2 separate regions of the Homo sapiens genome follow, and region 1 is linked to region 2. Evidence: promoter capture Hi-C in human tissues and cell types (Jung and others, 2019). All regions are on one chromosome and are shown on one strand. Each heading gives the region's core, a stretch centred on a gene start or on the middle of the fragment in contact. The rest is flanking DNA. Distances are from core to core; before and after follow the strand shown.

Region 1 (5,875 bases), core at 3,127-5,626, 73 kb after region 2:
TGGGCATTCACTTGGTACCAGACATCATACAGAAAGGTTTAGACACAGGATCACTTTGAATCTGCACAGCTCTTTTGAGGTATGTACTATTATTATCGTCAGTCTACAGATGAAGAAAGTGAGGTCCCTAGCTAGTGATAGAGCCTGAACTTGAACCTAGGTCCTTCTGACACCAAAATTCCAAGTTCATAGCTCTATATTCTTCTCCCCATTTCCTCATGGACATGCCTTCCAGTGAGGGGACAAAGACCAAAGGAGTGGCTCATCCAAGCATAAATGGAGACCTCTGAGGCCAGAGCTTAAGTCACGACCTGAGGGGTTTAGATTAGACTAAACCCAAGACTTTCAAATAATGTGTGTTTTTAGTTCTCAGAATAACCAAGAGGAAGTGTTTTAGCAACTACAGAGATTCTTGCCTCTCCCAGAATGTGTAAAGACCAGCAGGCTGATGGATTGTGGGTGAGTCAGACCCAGCCCGGTGGCCTTATGGTGCAACCTGATAGGTGTGCCCTTGCCAGGCAGGCCGGCAGGTAGGTCAGGGGCCTGGGGTCTCAGGACGTAGAGACTGTCCCTGCCCTCAGTTGGAGAGGACTGCAGACCCCTTCACTCCCTGACCTGGAGGAAGATGTGTGAGTCTGGGCTGTGGGGGTCACAGAAGCAGCAGGTGGCCTGTCTGCAGGTCCTAGGCCAAGGGCTGACTGGGTCCGGTGACATCCTTTGTGCTGGCGTTAGTTTCCCTCTCTATCCAAGGGCTGACTGGGTCTGGTGACACACTTTCTGCTGGCCTCAGTTTCCCTCTCTATCCAAGGGCTGACTGGGTCCAGTGACATCCTTTCTGCTGGCCTCAGTTTCCCTCTGTATCCAAGGGCTGTGACTGGGTCAGGTGACATGCTTTCTGCTGGCCTCAGTTTCCCTCTCTATCCCATTAGAGTGTTGGACTAGATATTCTCCAATGACCCTTTTCTTGCCTAAAGTTTTGTCATTCCAAGTGCAGAATGCTGTTAATTTGTCCATCTGTCCATCCATCCAAACCCCAAAAGCTTTCACTGGAGGTGTCTGAGTGCACGGCCCTGACGTCTGAAGGAGGCGCAGGTCTAGAAGACATAATGCCAGAGCGGCCCTCGTACCCACAGAGGAGAAGCAGAAGCTCAGAACCTATGGCCAAAGCAAGACACAGGCGGGGAAGTGCCATGTCCTCAGAACCCAGGAGTGCCGGTGGAACAAGCACCTCCGCCCGCCTCCCACCTGCTTCCTTCCTGCCATCCAGGGAGAACAGCCCTGGTTTCCAGGTAGAGGCATCCAGAGCTTCTGTGCCAGCCCCAACGGCCACACAGATGGATGATGGTGTTAAGTACTCATCAGCTGCAGTGAGGCTCCTGGAGCCGCCCATGAGGATGTAAGGTGCAATGTGCACCTCGCTCCTAACACCCAGGGCAGACGTTTGTCAGTGCGGGAATGGCAGGCGGGGGAGGAAGGCAGATCGTCCCGAGGCGTGCATCTCGAAGCCACCTACAGTGCTCATCAACAGGGAGCAGCAGCTCTGAGCAGCCCAGGAGTGGGTGCCAGCCGAAGTCAACAGGCAGGCGGGTAAATGCGTCCCAGCGCGGGGAGGGCTTGGAGAAAGGCCTGGAGCGTGACCCCTGCGTAAAGAAGAAAAGTGGCCGTTCTAGGAGAGGAGCAGTGAGACCCCAGGCTTTGTGGCGGGATGGGCCCCAGAGCACATTTTGGGGGCCTGGTGGGGTGATGGCAGCTGAGACAGGACAAGGCCGCTGGACCCCACAGGCAGTGGCCTCGGGTCTGAGGGAGGCTGTCCCAGTGGCCACCACACCTGGCCAGGCAGGGCCGTCAGGTGGGACCTAGGGGTGGTCACTGACTACTCTGGGCAGGCGCCTCCAGGAGGGGAGGGGAGTCCCAGCACCTGCTCACTTCACTTCCTGGAACCGCCTCCCGCCTGGAGGGCCGGCGCTGCTGGGGGCCAGGGCTGGGATGCTTTGTCCCTCCACGGGGACGGGGACGTATGGCCTCGCTGATTCTCCGCGCAGCCGCTCATTCTGGTGCAGCTGCCGCGCCGCCCTCCAGGCGCTGGGTAACTCCGGGCTGCAGTGCTTCTGCACATTAACACCATTTGTTCCGTGGAACGTGCTTTATTTCCACACCACACGCAGAGCTTATTACCCCGCCAGCAGCTCAGGGAGCAAGACGGCTGGGACCTGGGGAGGCGGAGGGACGACGCGGCCCAAGCCCCCTCCCCCCGCGCGTCCCAGCCCACTGCCCGCATGGGGGAGGGGCACTGGCCGGATCCCTGGGCAGTGAGCTCAGGAGGGCTGGGGCGTCCCAGTCAGGGAGCTGGTTCCCGGGAGGGTCCTCGCTGCTTGTGTGGCCCTGGTGACGATGCCGGGGCTCCTGGATAGATGCGCCCAGGCAGCTTCTTTTCTGGCTCTGCGGCCTCAGGGAAGCAACATGGCCTCTCTGAACTTCTGTCTCCCGAAATGTGGAGGCTGAGACTGTCTCTGTGAATGGTAGGGTAACTGTTTCCCTGCCACTGTAGGTGACAGTTAAGGTCGAGATGACCGCTAAAGACAAAGGCTTGACCCAGAGGCCAGGAGCAAGGGGGCGCGGGAATCACAGAGACTGGGGCAGCCCTAGATCCCCCGGGTAAGCCTTTTGGGCCCCTGCCTGCACAGCAGAGCAGAGCCCAGGGTGAGCCACGCAGGCGCGTGGAGAGGGCACCCCATGTGGGGCAGACTCCCGCTCAGAGGGGCCTCGCTGTGGCCACCACCTACAGACCAGAACCCGGGGCCGGGGTCTCATGGACCTCCTGACTGAGGAGACCTAGCAGAGCCAGACAGGGCCTGTGGACCGAGCAGAGGCTGGTGTGGACTCGGCTGGGGCCCGCTCCCTTCTCCTTTGACCTGGGGCACAAAGGTCCCCTCTGTGTAGGACTCACTGACTGGCCGCTTTCTACTCCTCACACAGTTCCCAGGCCCTGGAACTTTCCATCCGTCTTGTCCTTCTTGCCCTCACCACCCCTGCCCCGAGGTCCTCCGCCCACATGACCTGGTGGGGGCTGGCGTGAATACCTGGAGCGCAAGGCTGGGCAGGTTTTGCTCAACGTCATGAAGTCTGATCTCCACGCACAGAACCCGGCGTGGTGCCCACACCGTGTGCGTGAGCACAGGGACAGAGGTGTGGACGGATGACATCGGGTGACTGCAAGACCAGGCTGGCCACCATGCAGCTAGGGGCGAGGTGGACTCCAGGAGCCTGGTCTTGTTGGCATGGGGTAAGGAGCTCTTGGCCACCAAGGTACTGAAGTAAGAGGTAGGGAGAACCCCTCCTCCCTGGGCCTGTGAGGGTGGTCCTGGACACACAGGTACTGGCTCCCTCCTATGCGGGGTGGCGGCTGCCCTCCCTCCAGAGCCCAGCCCCAGGGCTGATGTGCCCGCACAGCTGGCACTGGGCTCTCGGGAGGCGGAGGCGGCAGGGAGGCCTCTGGGCTGGGGGAGGGCGCAGCAGCTGGACCCCTGACCCTTAGCAGAGCAAAGGGGAGGCGGAGGCCCAGCCACTGTCTCGGGAGGCACAGTGGGCGGCCGGGGTTGGCACAGGGGGAGGGGCTGGCCGGGCGCCCACTCCTTCCTAGGGTTTGTTGGGAGGCCAGCTCCCTCTCCATGGTGCGTGGAGCTGCAGAAGGCTTTATGTCAAGAGGCAGAAAGGCCCATGAATATTTCATTAGGGAAGCGATGTGAGGCTGCCAGGAACATCTGGCAGGAGTCTCTAGGGAGCTCCGAGCCGGCGCGGGAAGCAGGGACTGTGAAATTCGGAGGTGGAGGGAGGAGGGCTGCGGCAGGCAGCAGGGTCCCCTGTTCTGCTGTGGCCCAGCAAGGCTGCGCCCCTGACAAAGACCAGCCCTGTGCAGGGGCAGCTGTGGGTGAAACAGTGGGGGTGATGGCAGGGCCAACTTCCTCGATCCCGGGACAGCCCCCTGCCCACCCTTCCTACTCAGGCTCATGGCCGGGTCAGAGCAGCTGAGGGTGGGAAGGGGCCTGAGAGACAGTCTTGACCTGGGTCAGGCAGGGCTGGAATGGGGCGCCGCAGGGGCGGCACACACCCGGGGCATGGGACGGGGCTGTGGTTGGGGCCGGAGGGACCTGCACCTGTTGCTGGAAGCCCAGTGGGCAGCCAGGACCCCGGAAGCCCCTCAGTGGGTGAGGTGCCTGCTGGGTGTTCAGGCCTGCAGGTGAGGGGTGGGGGGTGAGAGGTTGGGGGGGGGACCTTGCCCAGCAGAGCGGGAGAAGCCCGGTCCCCAGTCTCCATCGTGGGGGCCGCAGCTTCCAGCTTGTCCCACCCTCCATGCCATTTTCAGGTCCCCTGGGGCCCTCGAGGGAGGGGCATCCACTCATGCCACTCTCCTCACGACTGAGGCCTGGGACCCACAGGTGCTGCCATCCCACCCAGTGCAGACCCAAGCCAGGGTTCCAGCCAGCACCTCGCCCATCTAAGTCTCCTCTGGGAATCCTGGAATGTGTTGTGCCCCGCCCCCCACCCCTGAGCCTGAGGGGCCAGGGCCACTGCTGTGTCCCCAAATCCCCGGAGCCCCCCTGCCTGAGTGTTTATCCCACTGACACCCATGCTGGGGCCCACCCTGCCCGCCCTCCACGCCTGTGCCATCTGAGGGCAGGGACTGCAGGGCCGGGTCCAGGCGGCCACTGGGGAAGCTCACCTGCGCCAAGGCCCACCCGGGATGACCCCACCGCCAGCACTTCCAAGGGGAAGCCCCCGTCATGAAGTGTTGGCCAGAGTCGGACTGAAGCCGCCACAGCAGCGCCTCCCGGGGCTTAAGGGGAAGAGGAGGCTGAGGATGGCCAGTCCCTGGGAGCCCCGCCGCACCTCCGCCCCCGGGATGTCTCAGGCTGGGCCTCTGCGGGGCTCTGAGCCTTTCCCTGAAGCTCTGAAGCACAGCCCAGACCCCTCGTGGGCCTTCAGTCCTGCCGGCTCTGTCCGACCCCAGGACCCTGTGTTCCCGACCTCTGCCCGACCCCTGGGCGTCTGGACCAGATGACCACTGCCCTCCCCCGCCCCCCCAGCCCTCCCTGCCCCTCAGCCCAGCCCGGGCTCCTGACCTTGGCCTCAGAGGCCCCTCCTAGCCCCTTCAAGGTGGAGGCTCCTGTGGGCCAGCCCGACTCTAGGCTCGGAGTTTTAAGGTCCATGGGCCTAACCTCCTCCCGGGCTTGGAGGAGCTGGGGGCCCAGCCACCCAGCCATCTTTACCCCAGCCCCTGCCCATGTGCTCTAATCGCCCCTCCAGTGCAACCTTCTTTCTGGGACTGGATTGGCTGCCCAGAGCATTGACTGGGACAGCGGCCAGCCCAGAGCCCCCGGCACAGCCAGGGCCCCTCTGTGCCATGCTCCTGCCAGGGCATGGGTCTGGTGCCAGCCTCTGCCAGCTGATGCTGTGGCTGGCAGCCTCTGCCATCCTGCTCGCCATGGATCACGCTGAGGGGCCACAGCCAGACGCCGGGACTAACACCCCCAGCCCTGCCAGCTCCACGCTGGCCCACCTGGGTGTCACCCACCTTTCTGCAGGTGAAAATCCCCTCTCCCACGGCCCCCAGCTCTTTCTGCCCAGCCTGTAATTGCTGGGAAGGGCAGCAGGACTTTGCCTTGGAGCTGCTGGGGAGTCCCTCACCTCGGGCTCCTTCCCACCCTCAGCAGCTGGGCTTGCTGCACCGTCACCCGCACTCCTGCTACCACACGTTTGGCGTCTGTCCCATCGTTCCGCACAGGCTCTGAGGCACCAAGCCAGGCTGGGAGCAAGAGGTGGGGCGGGGGCTCCGGGAAGACGAGAGGGAAGGCAGACGCACTCCCCTAGGAGCCCT
Region 2 (5,762 bases), core at 2,669-5,168:
GGGAGGAGACGGCCTTGCAAAGACAGAGGTAGTGGCTGCGGCACGGCGGCCACAGCCCAGGAACACCTGGGACCAGCAGGACCTGGAGAAGGCAGGACCTGGAGGAGCACGGCCATCTGACGCCTTAGTTTCGGACTTCCAGCCTGCGGCACTGTGAGAACAGAAGCCTCTGTTGTTCTGAGCCCCCAGCCAGCTTGCAGCCCATCCTTACTGCAGCCCCAGGAGATAGAAACACCCGGGGAGGGCAATCCAGACCCAGAACATTCCAGACCCAGAACCTTCCAATGCAGAATATTCCGGACCCAGAACATTCCAAACCCAGAACATTCCGGACCCAGAACATTCTGGACCCAGGACGTTCCAGACCCACAACATTCCAGAGGACAGCTGGGCCTGGATGGCCACTTGAGGGGATGGAGGATGGAGAGTGAGTGGTGGCAAAGCCCAGCCCCAAGGGCAAGGTCGGGTAGAGGGAGCCCAGGCTGACCGCAGGCTCTGGACGTGACCCCTTTGCCAGGTGGGCTCCAGCCAGGGCTCAAGCTTCCTGCACGGATGGTGCCTTCACAGCATCTGCCCAGTCCCCATAACATCTGCCCGCCTTGCCCGGTCCCCATAACATCTCCCGCCTTGCCCGGTCCCCATAACACCCGCCCGCCTTTGCCTGCACCCCTCCACTGATAGTGCTCACCACCTCCCCGAGATCCCACGTCGTCCCTCTAAGGTGACACCAGGCAGGCCTGACTCAGTTTCTCCCCCATGGAGGTCCCAGCACATGGCACTGAAACTTCTCTGCCTCAGCCTACACTTGCCAGGTGGATTTCAAAATCTCTGTCCCTGGCACCCTCCTCGGGTGACCTGGTTCCCATCCCTCTCTCCTGAGGCAGTCAGGTCACCTTTCTGACCTCCGCCTCTTCTTCTGCAAAGTGGGCTTGGGGGGACAAGGCGGTGAGAGCCTGCACAGCTCCGAGCACACACAGCGGGCGCCTCGTAAACCCAGCACCGCAAGCACCGTCTTCAGGGGTTCCTTCTGCACCACTGGGCCCAGGGGTCAGTGAGGATCCAGACCCTCCGCGTGAGGGGGCTGGTGAAGGAGCCCAGGGAAGGGGTCCCGGCCCCCAGACGGCGGCGTGTGCTCTGTGGCCATCTTCTGATTGCTTACACCTCAGCCCCCAGGACGCTGTCAGAGGAGACGAGGGGCTGAGGTCCTCCCACCCCCTGCACAGCACACAGACGTCTCTCCTGCCCGCCACCAAACGCGCAGCAACACAGCCCTGCTCAGTACGCCTTTGGTCTAAAGACAGGAAGGTTCTTCTACTTCAGCTTTTAGAAATATTACTGTTCTCCCCAGAGTTTAAAGCCAATCGGCCTGTTTTCAGGCCTCAAAGGTTTTAGGAACTCTTGGGAGGCCTGTGTGCCTGACAGCCACACAGTGGGGCTGAGGTGCCCTCAGGTCTGTCCAGGACCCCCCGCAGTTCCCATGCCCCCCATGGCCCCCGCTCCTCCAGCCAGGCGAGGCTTGATGCCGAGGCTTTCTGGCATCACAAGGCTCCCACATCTGTCCCCTGGGGGCCTTGGGAGGCCCCTGGGGTACAGGATGAGAAGCCCCAAGTGCTGGTATTCACATGTAACTCTGCTGCCTGATGTGGCTAAGGCTGTCCCATGGGTACCCTGGAATAGGGCCGGGTGGTTGCACGGACAGAAGCCCCTAGAAGCCAGGGGCAGGACCCCGCACCCAAGTGAGACCCTGCTCCCTCCTCACATTGCAGCCCCTAAGCAGGGGCTCCCTGGGGGTGGGCACAGTGGCTGGGTACTCTGTGTTAGAGGCCACCCTGGCCCTCTGCTCCTGACCTGCAGCCATGTCAGAGGTCCACCCTGACCCTCTCTGCTCCACATCTTTAGCCATGTCAGAGGTCCACCCTGACCCTCTGCTCCTCACCTGCAGCCATGTCAGAGGCCCGCCCTGACCCTCTGTTTCATGCCTCTAGCCAGCAGCCCCTCGCATGACTCAGGCACGGGGCCACCTCTTGGCCCTAACCTCCTTCCACGGTAGACACCCCCGTCCTTCCACAGTAGACGCCCCCATCCTAACAAAGCGGCGGCTCTCCATGCGCCTCAGAGCCCGTCTCTCTCCGCGCCGGTGAGAACCTGCTCTCACGCGGGGAGCAGGTCGGAAGGGTCTGAACCATGAGGAAACTGAGGCCCAGGGAGGAAGCACCCGGCCCAAGGCCACTCAGCGCCAGGGGATAGACAGGGCCGCTCCAGAGAGGACGGGATGGCAGATGCCAGGGCCAGTGGGCTGGTGCTGCCTTGAAGGTGGCTCTGAGTCACCCATTCGGGAGAAACGAACAGTAGCACTGGCTGTGGTGAGGTCCGGCCTTTGCATTCCGGGCACCCGGGGTTGGGAAGTTCCTGCTCACATCTGGGGCCCTTGTGGGGGATGGCCCTGGGGCCCCACGGGCAGCTGCAGGTGGGAACAGCCTCAGGCAGCCGCCGCCAGGACCTGCTCAGGGAATGTGGTCTCCAGAGATGGGGACACCCCTCGGTCCCGGGTTCTGTGTGTGAGTGTCAGGGGTGCAGTCAGACCTTGGACCTGACGGCCTCAGTGAGAGCCCCGCGAGACGGGAGACTGTGAGCTCCTGAAGGTTCCGACGGCTGCTGGGAGTGTGGCCACGAGGGCCACTGGGAATCGGGGCCACCAGCCTGCAGCTGCAGCCCCCAGCGTCCGGGGATCCTTGTCCTGGGACTTCGCAGGCTCGGGTGGGGGGTATCAGCAATAGCTGGCGTCCTGCTGGACTGGACCCCTCCCCAGAGCCCGAAGCCCCCAGAAGGGCAGGCCCAGGTTCCCCGTAAACCCCCACTGCCCTGGCTGGAATCGTTCCTCGGACAGGGGCCCAGGGTTGGGTCCATTTCCTCCTCACCGGGGTCTTGGGCCAGTGCCCTCCCCTCTGGCCTCAGTTTCCTCATCCAACCTGCTGTGAGGTGTCACACCCGGAGGGCATCCCAGGAGGAGGAGGGCTCTCTTTCTAGGACCCCCCCATCACTTCCCGGCTGCGGCCCTCCCACCCCCAGGAGAACACAGCCCACCCTCCTAGACGGGGCTGAGCAGCCCGGCCTCCAGCATCTGCCTCTGGGTGGGGCTGGGGCACCTGGCTGGCACCTGCCAAACCCTCACCAGCCCACCTGCCCCAGCTGTGCAGGACCTGCCTGTGGGGTGGCCCTGTTGATATCTGAGGTGAGTCAACACGGCCATCCGTGCCGGCACTGTCAACTAAGCTGGGCAGGCCCCGCGAAGCTCTAAGGAGTCACAGCCCCGGCACCGGCTGCCGCTCTCTGCCCCCACCCCACCACCTTCCCCTCGAGCCTCTTACCTGGGCCGCCCTTCCTGGGACCCCGGGGTGCGGAGCAGCCGGCAGATGCCAGGAGGCCGCTCTCCAGCACAGGGTGCGTCTGGGACATGGAGCCACAGGTGGATCCCGAGGCTGAACTGGCTGCCCTGTCCCTCAGTCTTGAAGCCGGCATGAGGAGGGCCACCCTCAGGGGCCAACCTGGAGCCCAGGACAGGCCTCTACCAGGACTGCCTTTCCCGACCTCCTGCAGCCTTGAGGGAAAGAGGAGGGGCTGGGCCAGCTGGGGCGTCCTGGAGTTGGGCCTCTGTCCCTGGAAAGCCGAGGCCCTCCCGGCCACCAACTGGGTGTCCTCTGCCCTGGGGAGGGGGTGGGAGCCCTGGGGCTCATGTGACGCGGGGCGGGCCTGGGGCTGCAGGCTGGGGAAGGTCTCCCTGCAGCCTGCGGGTGAGGCAGCCAGCTGTGTCCCCGTGATAATGCCGGGGCCGGAGGCCTGCAGCTGCGCCCGCCACTTCCCTGACAGGAACCATCTGGGGCCCTGCCCTGCGCGGCCTTCCCTCGGGCCATTCCGGTTTGACCTTCCAACAACTTCCTCCTCCCAGGCAGCTCTGGTGACGTCCCACCCACCCTGAGCCCTACAGCGTGGCCACTGGGCATGTGTTTCCTCGGCCCCAGGGCAGGTGTGCAGGCCTGAGGGCAGCTCCATCCTGGCCCAGAGCCCTTGGCCTGTCCCGCCCACCCATCTTCCCCCCAGGGCTTGGCCCTTCCTTCAGCCTGGGGTATCTGGGGGTGTCCTCCCTCTCCGCTAGCCCTCAGTCAGCCGAGCTTTCCCCAGCACCCCTTTTAGTTTGCCCCCGCTCCAGGGGCCACCCTGCCCGTGTTCCTGTGTCTGCTGACTGTGCCCTTGAGCAAGGCGGGGCCTCTGACCAGCCTCTCCTCAGCCCCTGCTCCGGGGTTCTTGGGCACCTGACCTGTCCTCAAAGTACCTCCCGCCTGCTGGGAAGGAAACCCTCTCTCTCTGCTTGGCCTCGTGCACAGGGCTCCTGGCCCTCTGTGGAGACAGCAGGGCTCCCCCACTCTCCGGGGGTGCCTCAGAAAGACCCTCACCCCACGCCCCAGCGGCCGCCTCCGGTGAGCAGCCTGGAGTTTGCGGGGGTCGGGGGTAGGTGGCTTCTCCAGTCTGGGAAATTCCAGAAGCCACCTCAGAGCACTCTTGGGACTACTTAGACCCTAGGGAGAGTCCTAGGACCCCTTTCTAGCGGCCGTTGGGCTGAGAGAGTGAGGCACATCCCAGATGCTGGGAAAAAAAGCCACTTTCTAAAGCTCCCTGACAACTGTCAGAGGGCAGGAGCTTCCTGGGAGGGGACAGTGACCCTTCGGCCCTGCAGCCCTGGTTCGGTGGCTTTTCTGATGCCATGGCTGGAGGTTTCCCGGCCTCAGACAGGCCAGAGGTGTGGAGCCCGCAGACCCAGGGCCGGCTCACGGGCATCTGTGCTATTTTGATTTGATTTGATTTGAGTTTTAGGTCACGTTTGCACGCAGTTAATAATTCAAGCCGTGCAGGAGTAAAAGCCGACTCCTTCCCCGCAGGGTCTCCAGGTGTCCCGGGTCTCCCTGTCCCAATAGTCGAGTGTCTTTCTCGAGTTGGTGACAACAAGCTGCATGCCAGCGTGTGTGTCCAGCTTACAGTGGGGATGTGTTTGTTCCTGCTGGGGAACTTCCCAGACGCCAGGCCCACCCGGGGCCTCCCCTGCCCTGGGTGGTCGGCCGTTCTGCCCCCAGGACTGAGGCTGGAGGGGACATTCCTGCCAGCCCGGGGCCCATCCCCTGGTGCCATCATTCGGTCCCCACGTCCCCTGCTGTTCCCTGTGCTCTGGCTCAGGGTGGGATTCACAGTGAGGGTCCTGGGGGCCCTGACCCTCCTGGTTTCCTCATTTGTGCAGGGTGCACGATCCTAACGGCGTCAGCTCCTACAGCGTTTCCGGGAGTGGAGACAGCAGAGGCTCTGAGCCGCCACATGGGCCGGGGCCACCGTGAGCATGTGGCTGGGGTTGGTCTGTGTCAGTGCCTATTCCCCAGCTGTGTGCAGTGAGAGTCTCAGAGTCGGGGAACTGAGGGTCTCAGGGGGCACAGCCCCCACTCCGTGAGGCAGCAGGACAGCACCCTGGGTGAGGGTGGTGGCTCCCCCCACCCGGGGTAGGAGACAGGCAGCCCTGCCCCCAGCCCTGAGGCAGATGTTCGAGGCCTGCACCTGCGCCCCCCACAGATGGGACACTTCCACTTTCGCAATGAGGCCCTGAGCTCCCCGCCTGGCCCCGTCTTGCCTGGTGTCTAATCAGGGGGTCTGACGGAGGTGGGGTTGGAAAGAGAAGAGAAGAAAGTTGCCCACAAGTTGGGGGCAGGAGCTGCCCCCCAACT

The links. Contacts are between HindIII fragments. The study calls those that stand out against the background at their distance.
Region 1: a fragment that was not itself captured here is called in contact with the fragment with the promoter of CBFA2T3 in region 2 in 2 of the 25 tissues and cell types used here (lymphoblastoid cells and spleen).

Annotation. Positions count from the first base shown.
Region 1 is chr16:89,046,181-89,052,055 of GRCh38, forward strand. No RefSeq gene overlaps it. Among named protein-coding and RNA genes, the nearest start is that of ACSF3, 45 kb to the right of the region's middle. The HindIII fragment of the contact is 8,249 bases long and covers 253-5,875 here.
Region 2 is chr16:88,973,289-88,979,050 of GRCh38, forward strand. CBFA2T3 (CBFA2/RUNX1 partner transcriptional co-repressor 3) reads right to left here and starts at 3,919. Exons shown (of 12, transcript NM_005187.6): 1 at 3,369-3,919. The coding sequence starts at 3,519. RefSeq lists enhancers at 1-102, 2,044-2,588, 2,241-2,450, 4,291-4,340. The HindIII fragment of the contact is 13,654 bases long and covers 1-5,762 here.